2 separate regions of the Homo sapiens genome follow, and region 2 is linked to region 1. The links are contacts of gene promoters, found by promoter capture Hi-C in human tissues and cell types (Jung and others, 2019). All regions are on one chromosome and are shown on one strand. The core of a region is centred on a gene start or on the middle of the fragment in contact, and the rest is flanking DNA. Distances in the headings are between cores, read along the strand shown. Region 1 holds the start of COA4 (cytochrome c oxidase assembly factor 4 homolog). Region 2 overlaps MRPL48 (mitochondrial ribosomal protein L48).

What was found. Contacts are between HindIII fragments. The study calls those that stand out against the background at their distance.
Region 2: a contact is called between a fragment that was not itself captured here and the fragment with the promoter of COA4 in region 1, in 6 of the 25 tissues and cell types used here (H1 embryonic stem cells, bladder, mesenchymal stem cells and 3 more).

What each region holds. Positions count from the first base shown.
Region 1 is chr11:73,871,953-73,878,295 of GRCh38, reverse strand. It overlaps COA4 (cytochrome c oxidase assembly factor 4 homolog), which reads left to right and starts at 1,450. Exons shown (of 2, transcript NM_016565.3): 1 at 1,450-1,539; 2 at 4,902-5,629. The coding sequence starts at 4,918. The coding sequence ends at 5,181. PAAF1 (proteasomal ATPase associated factor 1) reads right to left here and starts at 1,297. Exons shown (of 12, transcript NM_025155.3): 1 at 1,228-1,297. The coding sequence starts at 1,274. RefSeq lists enhancers at 1,060-1,129, 1,150-1,199. The HindIII fragment of the contact is 11,350 bases long and covers 1-6,343 here.
Region 2 is chr11:73,821,306-73,827,648 of GRCh38, reverse strand. It overlaps MRPL48 (mitochondrial ribosomal protein L48), which reads right to left. Exons shown (of 8, transcript NM_016055.6): 4 at 1,853-1,941. Among named protein-coding and RNA genes, the nearest start is that of MRPL48, 37 kb to the right of the region's middle. The HindIII fragment of the contact is 6,321 bases long and covers 1,710-6,343 here.

The DNA.
Region 1 (6,343 bases), core at 201-2,700:
GCAACCCTCTATCATTTGACGAGATGCATGATCTTGGGCAAATTAAGCCTTCTGATTCTGGTGCTGTATTTTCTCATAGGTAGCTAGTGGCACTTCATGTTATTGTTCTTTATTACTTATCACATTCTGTGTACTAGCAACTAGTCTGTATTTTAGCCCACCTAAATTAAGTAAGGTATAAATTTAGTAAGGTGTAAATTTCTTAAATGCAGAAGGCTATGTTTCATTCATCTTCACCATTGTTTCAATTTGAAAAACCCTTATTAGTAGTAGCAGTTGCCAAATATAGCACTGCTATATTCATCCTGAAGCCTAGAGAAATAACTGGAATAGTATAAGATCAATAAATGTTAGATGAATGAATAGTTTGCTGTGTATTCCTAATTAAGACGTCAGCTTTTCTTCTTTTTTGAGATGAGTATCGCTCTGTCACCCAGGCTGGAGTGCAGTGGTGCAATCTCGGCTCACTGCAACCTCCACCTCCTGGGTTCAACCGATTCTCCTGCCTCAGCCTCCCGAGTAGCTGGGATTATAGGCGCCCACCACCAAGCCCGACTAATTTCTGTATTTTTAGTAGAGACGGAGTTTCACCATGTTGGTCAGGCTGGTCTCGAACTTCTGACCTCAACTGATCCACCAATCTCAGTTTTCCAAAGTGCTGGGATTACAGGCATGAGCCACTGCGCCTGGCCTGGATGTCAGCTTCTTGAAGAGCAGGAACCATCACTTATATTTAGAGTATACATCTGAGCTCCACCAAGCATCCAGTATGGGGCCTGGACACAGTATTAGTTTCCTTAATAGTATCGTCCAGTATGCCTAATATAGCATTAGGGGCCTAGGAGAATACAAAGGTTCCATCACATACACAAAGTGGTGGTGAGTACAGAGACTTCTGGAAGTAACTGACGACTAATCAATATTTGCTAAATGACTGCTTGGCCAAAAGCCTTCCTGCCTCCCAGTATCCCTGTCTTTCTCCAACTCACTGATACTAGTTCTGACGCGGGGATCACACAGCTCATGTGCTCCCTTGGCCTAGGGATAGCTTTTCAGAGAATGACCATACGGGTTTGATACTTCTTTTTCCGGACCCTGTTCCCTCCATATCCCTCGACAATTGACGAAGTAACCCCTATTGATATCCTGGACCAGGCATGGCTCTCCTTGACGCAAAGCAACATCCACTACCCGCCTCCTCTGACTCTGTTCTGGGCCTGGATTCACCTGAGGGCTTGCGCCCAGTCGCTCTGAATCCTCAAAGGCGCCGCCATCTCGACCCCGCCTCCACCAGCCCACCTCTTCCGCCCCTTCCCGGAAGTGAGTCCCCGAGAAGCGTGCGGCGAGGACAGAGGTGGGCTCAACACCAAGAGGCCACCAATGAAAACGTGACTTTTTCACATTCCCCGCCCCTTCCGTGTGCACGCTCCCCACGAGGGGCTGGTTCCTGAAAGGATGTACAGAGGATCCCCAACCGCCTGCGAAACCCAAGCCGCCGCGTAGGAGCGTGCGTTCGGGCCCTCTTCTCCCACCTGTTCGGTGAGCATCGCGTACCGCGTTCTTCAGGAGGCGTTGCGGGCACAACGGGGCTGCGATCAGCGGCCGCGCGCGCGCATGCGTCCTCAAAGTTCAAAGTCCTCGATACGCCTGAGGCGCCTCAGGCCTCGTGGCTGCCAGCATTTTTCTGCTTTAAGATCCTTTCCATGACTTCCTTGTTTAGGCCAGCCTCCACGATCCAGCTGCCAACCATCTAGCCTACCCTGATCTCTGAGCAGGGGTCGTCGTCATTTTACTCCAGAGGAGACTGAAGCCAAAAGGTGGTGAGAGGAGAGTACAGCAGCATTTACTGAGTCCTATAGTAGCCCAAGCGCTTTTCATTCGTTATATTAATCTTCATTCTAATTGTGCGAATTAAATATTATTAATGGGAAAACTAAAATGAAAAAGATTACATAGTAAGGCGTAGTGCTGGGATTTGAACACGGATCTCTTGGTTTAGGATCAAGGCACTTTCTATTCCACTGTTCTTTCTCTAAATTATTTGCTCCTGGCCCTATTTAAAGAGTTAACAGTGTATTTAGGAAGAGAAAACTATCATTTATTGAACTCTTTAGACATACCAGCCTCCTTACAAACCTTACCTTTTTTTTTTTCTTTTTTTTTTTTTTTGAGACAGGGTCTCCCGCTGTAACCCAGGCTGGAATGCAGTGGCGTGATCACGGCTCACAGTGTTGCCCAGGCTGGGCGCAAACCATCCTCCCGCCTCAGCCTCCCAGTGTTGGGATTACAGGCGTGAGCCATGGCACCCGGCTTCATCTCTGTGCTTCCAGAGAGGTTATTAAATGATGTGTCCAAGGGCACCAAATGAGGCAGTGACAAAGCTAGGTCCAAGTCTGTTTCAAAGCCCATTTTCTCCCTCTTGCTTAAGTTATACCGCCTCCAAGGCAAATGAGTTGTGTAAAGTGCCTAACTCCCTCTTGTGATTCCCCATTGCCCTCAGAATAAAAAGTCTTAAACTCCCTACTATGTCCTACAAAGCCTTGTGATGATCACTTACTTATATCGCCAGTTTAATATTGTCTTATTCTCACACTGTATTCTCCCATCACTGAACTTTTTTTTTTTTTTGCTCTCATGTGTCAGATTCTATCTCAACCACCTGCTCTTCCATTGACCAAAAATAGTTTTCCCATCTCTGGCTAACTTCTGTTCCATCTGTCAAGTTTCAGCTTGGAAATCACTTCCTCTAGGAAGCCTTCCCTGCCTATTCCTGCCCTTGTCTGGATTAGGCATCCCTCCACTGTGGTCCCAGTCTTTGCTATCTGTACACTGTGTAGTAAACTGCCCTGTTTCCTTGTCTAGGTTGTAAACTCCATGAAGCCAGGAACTTAACTGACTTAGACAGTCTTGAATCCTCAGCACTAGCATAGTGCCTGGTACATGATAGGTACTTAATCATTTGTTGAGTGAATGAGAGACACAGTTAAGGCAATAAGGAGTCCTAGTTGCTTTACAGCCCATCATGGTGAAATTTTTGCAAAGGCTGAAGTCATTTCTCTTCAAACCTTAAGTTCCTTCTGTATGCTGCTTTCTGCTGAGTGTTCTGATGCAGACGGGCAAGACAGTTTGGGCAAATAAATACACCTCACATTTTTGTATAGTTTACAAAGCCATCTCACCTTATAGACCCAGAGGCCAGGTTTCTGCATACTGTATGCTACAGCCACAGTGAACTCTTTCCATCCTTCCCATGTGTCAAAACCTACCCATATTTGGGCACTCTTTCACTTTGTTTGTTTGTTTGTTTTGGAGATGGAGTCTCACTCTGTCACCCAGGCTGGAGTGCAGTGGCACGATCTTTGGCTCACTACAACCTCCGCCCCTTGGGTTAAAGCGATTCTCCTGCCTGAGCCTCCCGAGTAGCTGGGATTACAGGTGCCTGCCATCACGCCCGCCTAATTTTTGTATTTTTAGTAGAGACGGGGTTTCATCATCCCGGCCAGGCTGGTCTTGAACTTCTGACCTTATGATCCATCTGCCTCGGGCTCCCAAATTGCTGGGATTACATGTGTGAGCCACTGCACCCAGCCTCTTTCACTTTTTAAACTTTGTTCTTCAGCATAGAATAAGGCTAGTAGGATAAAAGAAGAAAGGTTATTTATTTGAAACAGGGTCTCACTATGTCACCTAAGCTGGAGTACAGTGGCACCATCATAGCTCACTGCAGCCTTTGAACTCCTGGGCTCAAAGGATTCTCCCTCTTCAGCCTCTTGAGTACCTGGGACTACAAGTGTGTGCCACTATGCCCAGCTAATTTTTACATTTTTTTTCTTTTTTCTTTTTTTTTGAGATGGAGTTTTGCTCTTATTGCCCAGGCTGGAGTGCAATGGTGTGATCTCGGCTCTCCGCAACCTCCGCCTCCCGAGTTCAACCTCGGCTCTCCTGCTTCAGCCTCCTGAGTAGCTGGCATTACAGGCATATGCCACCACACCTTGCTAATTTTGTATTTTTAGTAGAGACGGGTTTCTCCATGTTGGTCAGGCTGATCTTGATCTCCCGACCTCAGGTGATCCGACTGCCTCAGTCTCCCAAAGTGCTGGGATTATAGGCATGAGCCACCGTATCCAGCCATTTTTAAATTTTTTTGTAGAGATGAGGTCTTGCTATTACCCCTGCTGGTCTCAAATTCCTGGGCTCAAGGGATCTTCCTGCCTCAGCCTCCCATAATGCTAGGATTACAGGTGTGAGCCATCGTACCTAGCTGAAAGTTTAGTTCTTTTTAGGTAGATCAGAGATAGCTTATCTAAAAAGATGACATTTCACCTAATTCATATTCCAATAGCAAAATCCACTGAGCTTATTGAATGTTATGTCAAGCATTCTCACAGTTTATCTCATTCAGTTCAAACCACTTTTCAGGCCTGCTCTCAGCCAGGCCTAGTGCTGGGGGCACAAAGGTAAATCAAGACGAACATCAGCCGGGCACAGTTGGCTCACACCTGTAATCCCAGCATTTTGGGTGGCTAAGGCAGGAGGATCACTTGAGCCCAGGAGTTTGAGACCATGCTGAGCAACATGGAAAAACCTTGTCTCTATTAAAGAATCAAAAAAATTAGCTGAGTGGTGATGCACACCTGTAGTCCCAGCTACTCTGGCCAGGGAGGGACTGAGGGGGAAGGATTGCTTGATCCCTAAAGATGGAGGCTACAGTGAGCCTGGGCAACAAAGCAAGACACCCTCAAAAAAAAAAAAAAAAAAACAAGCATCTGTCTTCAAGCTTAGAGTCTCCCACGGGAGACAGACACATTAAACAGGCTAAATGGTGCAGTCTGGTCAGTGCTATTTATAATTTAGGAACCTTACATATTATATCCCTACTCTAACCTGTTAATGTTCTATAGACTCCCCATCCCCAGGATGTCAACCTCAGTCCCTCAAGGCCATACCTGGACCCAACGGGTGAAGAAAGACGATGAGGAGGAGGACCCGCTGGACCAGCTGATCTCCCGCTCTGGCTGTGCTGCCTCCCACTTTGCAGTGCAGGAGTGCATGGCCCAGCACCAGGACTGGCGGCAATGCCAGCCACAGGTGCAGGCGTTCAAGGATTGCATGAGTGAACAGCAGGCGAGGCGGCAAGAGGAGCTGCAGAGGAGGCAAGAACAAGCCGGTGCCCACCACTGAGACCCCAAACCACCTATCCCCAGTAGATGGCCCTGCCAAGACCAGCACCCAGCAAGATTATAGAGGAAGAAATCCTAAATGCTGGTGTGGGAGGTCTAAAACATGGGGAGAGTTTTTGGATCTGGAGTTGAGAGCCATGGGTTTGGACATGACTGGCACAAACAGCTGTCATATGTTCATGGTCAGATGTCATACATTCTCAGCTGTCTTGTTCCACCAGTATTTACCAGGAAAACAAAGAATGTGTTAAGGGATGCTCCCCCACCCCACATCTTAAGTCAGTGTGCCAAGTACTGAGATGATTTTAGGGACATTTTATTTTAAATTAAATTTACAATCTAATGGTAAATTGATTACCTAATTAGTGCCTTTCTCTTTCATCACTTGTTCTGGATGTTTCAATCAGTTTAGTGGAAGGAAAAATAAATGGGGAAACTTTTTATTCAAATATGTTTTTCTTTTGTTTTTTTGAGACAGGGTCTCTGTTGCCCAGGCTGGAGTGTGGTGGTGGAGTCAGGGCTCACTGCATCCTCAGTGGGCTCAGGCCATCCTCCCACCTCAGCCTCTCAAGTAGCTGGAACCACAGGTGTGTGCATCACCACACCCAGCTAATTATTCAAACATTGAGTACCTATTAAATGCCAGATTCTGTTGAATTAACAGATACCAAGTCTGGCTTTAACTTGCTCCCAACCCAACAAACACAAAGTTGGGCTAACATTTTTAGAGTATATTTAACACTAAAATACAGATTTTCAGCTTTTGAAAAGGGGAGAAGATGTCAACATTGATTTTTATTCCCTCTTAACAATTTGCTGGAGCTGAATAATAACTCCCCCTTTAAGTAGGTTGTGTTTTCCCATTCAAAACAGTTGCATATCATTTCTCATTTTTCTTCAACAAAACGACTCTTCCATTCTATTCTTTTTTTTTTTTTTGAAATGGAGTCTTGCTCTGTTGCCCAGGCTGGCGTGCAGTAGCGCAGTCTCGGCTCACTGCAACCTCTGCCTCCCAAATTCAAGTGATCCCCCTGCCTCAGCCTCCCAAGTAGCTGGGACTACAGGCAAGCACCACCACACCCGGCTAATTTTTGTATTTTTAGTAGAGAATGGGGTTTCACCATGTTGGCCAGGCTGGTCTCAAACTCCTGACCTCAAGTGAT
Region 2 (6,343 bases), core at 3,621-6,120, 54 kb after region 1:
AGCTAAAGAACCAAGAGATATTGAAGTCTCCCCAAAATCTCCCCCCACTGTACTGTTTGCAGGAAGTGACAGGCTTGAGATTGAAAGACAGATCTTATACCTTGCATGCTGTATCCACCCCAAAAGAAAATCCTCTGCACACACACAGAAATCTAACTGGAGCCAAAGAAATGGGCTAAATAATTTCATAATGCTTAGAACTAATATCCACTTACCTGTGATAAAGGATTCAAGAAGCACATAATTTATTTATCTATTTATTTTTGAGACAGAGTCTCACTCTGTTGCCCAGACTAGAGTACAGTGGCGTGATCTCGGCTCACTGCAACCTCCACCTCCTGGGATCAAGTGATTCTCATGCCTCAGGCTTCCGAGTAGTTGGGATTACAGGCACGCGCCACCATACCCAGCTAATTTTTGTATTTTTAGTAGAGACGGGGTTCCTGCCATGTTGGTCAGGCTGGTCTTGAACTCAACCTCAAGAGATCTGCCTGCCTCAGCTTCCCAAATTGCTGGGATTACAGGTGTAAGCCACCACACCCAGCCTATTTTAGATTTGAAAATACAATAAGAGGCCAGGCTTGGTGGCTCATGCCTGTAATCCCAGCACTTTGGGAGGCTGAGGCAGGCAGATCACCTGAGGTCGGGAGTTTGAGACCAGCCTGGCCAACATGGAGAAATCCCGTCTCTACTAAAAATACAAAATTAGCCAGGCTTGGTGGCGCATGCCTGTAATCCCAGCTACTCGGGAGGCTGAGGCGGGAGAATCGTTTGAACCCAGGAGGTGGAGGTTGCAGTGAGCCGAGATCGCACCATTGCCCTCCAGCCTGAGCAATAAGAGTGAAACTCCATCTCAAAAAAAAAAAAAAAAAAAGAAAATACAGTAAGAATCAGTTATCCCAGCACTTTCAGAGGTCAAGGCAGGCAGATCACTTGGGGTCAGGAGTTCAAGACCTGGGCTGGTCAACATGGTAAAACCCCACCTCTACTAGAAATACAGAAATTAGCCAGGTGTGGCAGCGGACGCCTATAATCCCTGCCACTTGGGAGGTTGAAGCATGAGAACAGCTTGAACCCGGGAGCCAAAGGTTGCAGTGAGCTGAGATCGTGCCACTGCACTCCAGCCTGGGCAACAGAGCGAGACTCCATCTCAAAAAAACTAACAAACAAAAAAGTATCAGTTATATGGCTGAAAATATCAGTCTACCTCTACTTGCCACAACTCATTCACTCAACTAAACTGAATTATCATTTCCATTATGAGGTCCATACTGAAATAAGTACACTACTAGGAAGATTTTTTTTTAAGTATTACAAATAATAAAATCAGGCCAGCCATGGTGGCTCATGCCTGTAATCCCTATGCTTCCGGAGGCTGAAGCAGGAGGATCACTTGAGGCCAGGAGCTTGAGACCAGCCTGGGCAATACAGCAAGACCCTGTCTCTATAAAAAAATTTTTTTTAATTAGATGGGCATGGTGGCAAGAACCTGTAGTACCAGCTACTTGGGAGGCTCAGGTGGGAGGATCACTTGAGCCCAGGAGATCAAGGCTGCAGTGAGCCGTGATCATGCACTGCACTCCAGCCTAGGTGACAGAGCAAGACCCTGTCTCAAAAAAAAATAAAAATAAAAACCATTTGCTTTTTACTATTATAACCTGGCCTAGGGATAAGATTGGAAGTTGGTAGAAACATCTCCAGTCTGGAAATTCCAAATTAATAACTGGCAAGGATTGAGAGGCAACTTTATCATTTCTAGCTCCAATATTATCAAAACTATACATATCTGATCTTCAGGTTTTTGCAAAAGCTGCACATTATCCTTTTCCAAAAGACTCCCCCTGCCCGTTACCTCTTCTGCTTTAATTAAGTGCTTGTACTTTCCAATGCCGTGGGTGGGCTTTGTCTTGTAGGGCCGACTGATACTTAGTAGAATTCCACCTAAAAGAGAGAAAATAAGACAAACCTGTTTTTTTGTTGTTGCTATTATCGTTGTTTTTTAAGAGACAGGGTCTTGCTCTGTCACCCAAGCTGGGATGTAATGCCATCTCATAGCTCATTGAAGCCTCGAACTTCTGGTACAAGACAGTCTCCTGCCTCAGCCCACACCCCCCTCCCCGCCGACCCCAAGTAGCTAGTACTACAGGCATGTGCTACCATGCCCAGCTAATGTCTTTTATTTTTTGTAGAGCTGGAGTCTTGCTATGTTGCCCAAGCTGGTCTGCAGCTCCTCCCACCTCAGCCTCCCAGGGTGCCAGGATTACAGGTGTGAGCCACCACACCTAGCTTGGACTACAAATTTAAAAAAGAAAAAAAAATATGTATACACACACACACACACACACACACACACACACACACACATATATAAAAAACAAGGTAACAGTAAGGATTTTTAAAAGTAATCTCGGAGATCTTTCTAAGCATGAAACAAAATCTAGAAATCAAATATTAATAAACTTAGTATATAAAAAGTTAAAACTTCTGTTCAACAAAAAATAAATAAATAAATGAAGTTAAGGACTAGATGACAAGAAAAAGTACAAAGCATACGTAACAGAGAAATGCTAATTTCCTTAACATACAATAACTATATTAAAACCTCTTTCTAAGCTCCTCTGGGAACAGCAGATGATTTGAGGGGACAAATTCTCCACTGCAGGACTGGGAAGATTTGGTGGTAGCTGACCTCTTGTTGGTTTAAGGAGCCATAGATATTTCTTGATCCTGGACGGATTCTCAGTTTGTCCCCTTATTCTCTCCTTTTGGCTCCTAGAATATGCACGATCCCCACTACTCATCTTTCTTTGAGAAATTCTCTCCTGATAAAGCCACTGGCAGTAAGGGGATAAAATACATTCTCAGAGGGCTCTCATCTCTTCTTGTTCCTCAACAGGCAATAATCCTTTTGAGGTTTTCTTTTTTTCTTTTGAAAAAAAAATCCTTTCGCCTTCCCTTTTGAAGTTTTCTAACTGTGACTATATAGAGAAAGAGACAGGCAGCAAAAATAGCCAGCAAAGAGGAAGAGCATAGAATTCCATAAAGTTTTTTTGTTTTTTTTTTTGAGATAGAGTCTCATTCTGTAACCCAGGTTGGAGTGCAGTGGTGCGATCTCAGCTCACTGCAACTTCCACCTCCCAGGTCCAAGCAATTCTCCTGCCTCAGCCTCCTGAGTAGCTGGGATTACAGGCACGCGCCACCACACCCGGCTAATTTTTCTATTTTCAGTAGAGTCGGGGTTTCACCATGTTGGTCAGGCTGGTATCGAACTGACCTCATGATTCGCCCACCTCGGCCACCCAAAGTACTGGCATTGCAGGCGTGAGCCACCGCGCCCGGCCATACAGTTTTACAAAACATCTAACTTGATTTATTTGTGCTGATCTGAAAACAGCCTCCAACAAATATCGTTAAGTGAACAACAACAAAAACAAAAACCAAAAGTGTAGAACAGTATGTAGGTATGCTACTACTGGATTAAAAAAATAGGGTCTTGGCCAGGTGCGGTGGCTCATGGCTGTAATCCCAGCACTTTGGGAGGCCGAGGCAGGTAGATCACGAGGTCAGGAGTTCAAAACCAGCCTGACCAGCATGGTGAAACCCCATCTCTACTAAAGATACAAAAATTAGCTGGGCATGGTGGTGCACGCATATAATCCCAGTTACTCAGGAGGCTAAGGCAGGAGAATCACTTGAACCCAGGAGGCGGAGGCTGCAGTGAGCCAAGATCATGCCACTGCACTCCAGCCTGGGTGTCAGACCCAGACTCCGTCTCAAAAAAAAAAAGGGGGGTCTTTATATATATATACATTGTGGTAGACCCAGGTAGCCATAGTGGTAGCATGTGTCTGTAGTCCCAGCTACTCAGGAGGCTGAGGCAGGAGGATTGCTTGAGACTAGGAGTTTGAGGTTGTAGTGCAAATAGCTGCTGCACTTCAGCCCGGGCAACATAAGAAGATCCTGTCTCTAAATTAAAAAAAAAAAAAAAAAAAAACAGAAAAGAAAAGATAGGGTAGAGATAAGAAACTGAAATCAGATCAGGTCTAGCTAGATTTTTGTATTCTAGAAATCAAGTGTTATAACCTAGTGGTTATGGACACAGGCTGTTCAGTCAGATAGACCTGAGTTTAAATAGAAGTCCCACCTGTTTCTTTCTGGTTACTTTCACCAAATTTTTTTGAGCTACTGTTTCTTCTTTATTTATAAATGAGGATAATAAAGAGGGTTAAAGGATAACATGTGTATGTGTGTGTATCTATATGTATGTGTATATGGCATCAAGATATGGGCAGCAAGTCCTTCCTTGAAGAGGGATCTTCAAGCTGCTGTGGTCCTGCCCTCATTTCTTCAGGGTCACCACTCTGTGAGGTATTAAACACAAGATGGTGTGAAGAAGTCTAAGTCAGCAGTCCCCAACCTTTTTGGCACTAGGGACCAATTTTATGGAAGACAATTTTTCCACAGATGTGAGGAGTGGGGAAGTGGTTTTGGGATGATTCAAGCATATTACATTTATTGTGCATGTTATTTATATTATTATTACATTGTAATATATAATGAAATAATTGTACAACTCACCATAATGTAGAATCAGTGGAAGCCCTGAGCTTGTTTTCCTGCAACTAGACAGTCCCATCTGGGGGTGATGGGAGACAGTGACAGATCATCAGGCATTAGATTCTCAGAATGAGTAGTGCTCAACCTGGATCCCTCATATGTGCAGTTCACAAAAGAGTTCATGCTCCTATGAGAATCTAACGCCACAGCTGATCTGAGAGGAGACAGAGCTCAGGTGATAGCTTGAGTGATGGGGAGTGGCTGGGAGGGGCTGTAAATACAGATGAAGCTTCCCTGGCTCAACTGCCCCTCATTTCCTGCTGTGTGGCCTGGTTCCTAACAGGTCACAGACCACGTACTGGTCCATGGCCTGGGGTTTGGGGATTCCTGATCTAAGTGACATCAAGTAAAAGTTTTCTTAGGCCTCTGTTTTCTAAAATGGGCTTCCAAGCAGGTTTGCTCTGTGTGAGGCCTATCAGAGATAGTACTGGCTTCAGAGAACTTCTCCACATTTACAATCCACGCTATTTCATCAAGACAACCCAGAAATATCATGGATCCCTTCCACGATATGCATTAATCCACATTTACAATTACATGCCAATAACTGTATAGACACTGAGACAGTTACAAAGACAAATAAAATATGCTACTTTCCCTTGAGATACTCGAGGTATAGTATGAAAGGAAGATAGGAAAGCAGATAATCACCTTACGGTGTACTAAGTACTTTAATGGACACGTGAGCAATGTCATAGGTGCTCAGAGGAAGAAAAAACTAACTCTGCCTTTGGGGTGGGGGTGCAGGGTGCAGGGGAATAGGTTCAGATGAGGAAACAGCTGCATTCTTGAAAGCAGAGTAAGAGTTTACCGTGTAAGGAATAGGGAGGTATTTTTGGCCAGAGGTTCCCAAAGAGCACAGAATATAACCAAGGTATCTTCCTGACTGCTGCCCCAGTTTCATCTCTCTGAATCTAAGACCTTTGACCTTTTGCAACTTCGGGCTCTAGACTCTCCAACCTGAGGACCCACCCATGGAGCTGATATCCAAATCTCTTTGATGGGTACACAGTGATCCTCAGGCCAGGACCTTGAAAACCAACCTCATCGAAGATTTTATTATGACTCAAAATAAGACCTCCTAAAAAGCACTGAACTCTCCAAAGTATGATCATCCATTCAACAAATATTTATTATTACCTATTAGGGTAGGCAGCAACCATTATACTGCACAATCATATGAATGGCACACACCAGAGTTGTGCAGTGTACAACCAACCCAATATCCATGGCAGGCTTGATAGGTACCACGCATTGCCCTAGAAGCTGGGGCTACAACAATGAACAAAGACTAAGTCCCTGCAATACAGAACCTGCCACCTAGGAAGACAGACACTAATATCAATGCAAGGTGATAAGGGCTGTCTATGATAAGCACTGTACACGGGAGGGGCACTTAAGATGAACTTGAGTGCCAGGAAAGGGTTCTTAGAGTGAGTGGCTTTTAAGTAAAACTTGAAGGATAAGTAGGAGTTAGGAGAAAACACGGTATAGGCAGAGAAAGAGCCAGAGATAATTTTAAAGTAGAGCAAGAGGATCAGGGTGGCAAGAGATGAGCTTAGAGAAACAGGCAAGGCTTAGGAAGGGCTTAATTATTGAGTACTAATGATATCCCAGACACCGTGCAAAGGGTTGGGGACAAGGCCAACAAAACTCTGCTTATGGAGATTATAGTCTAGTGGGAGGACAGAATCATTAGACTAATAGTCACAAAGTAAATATAAGA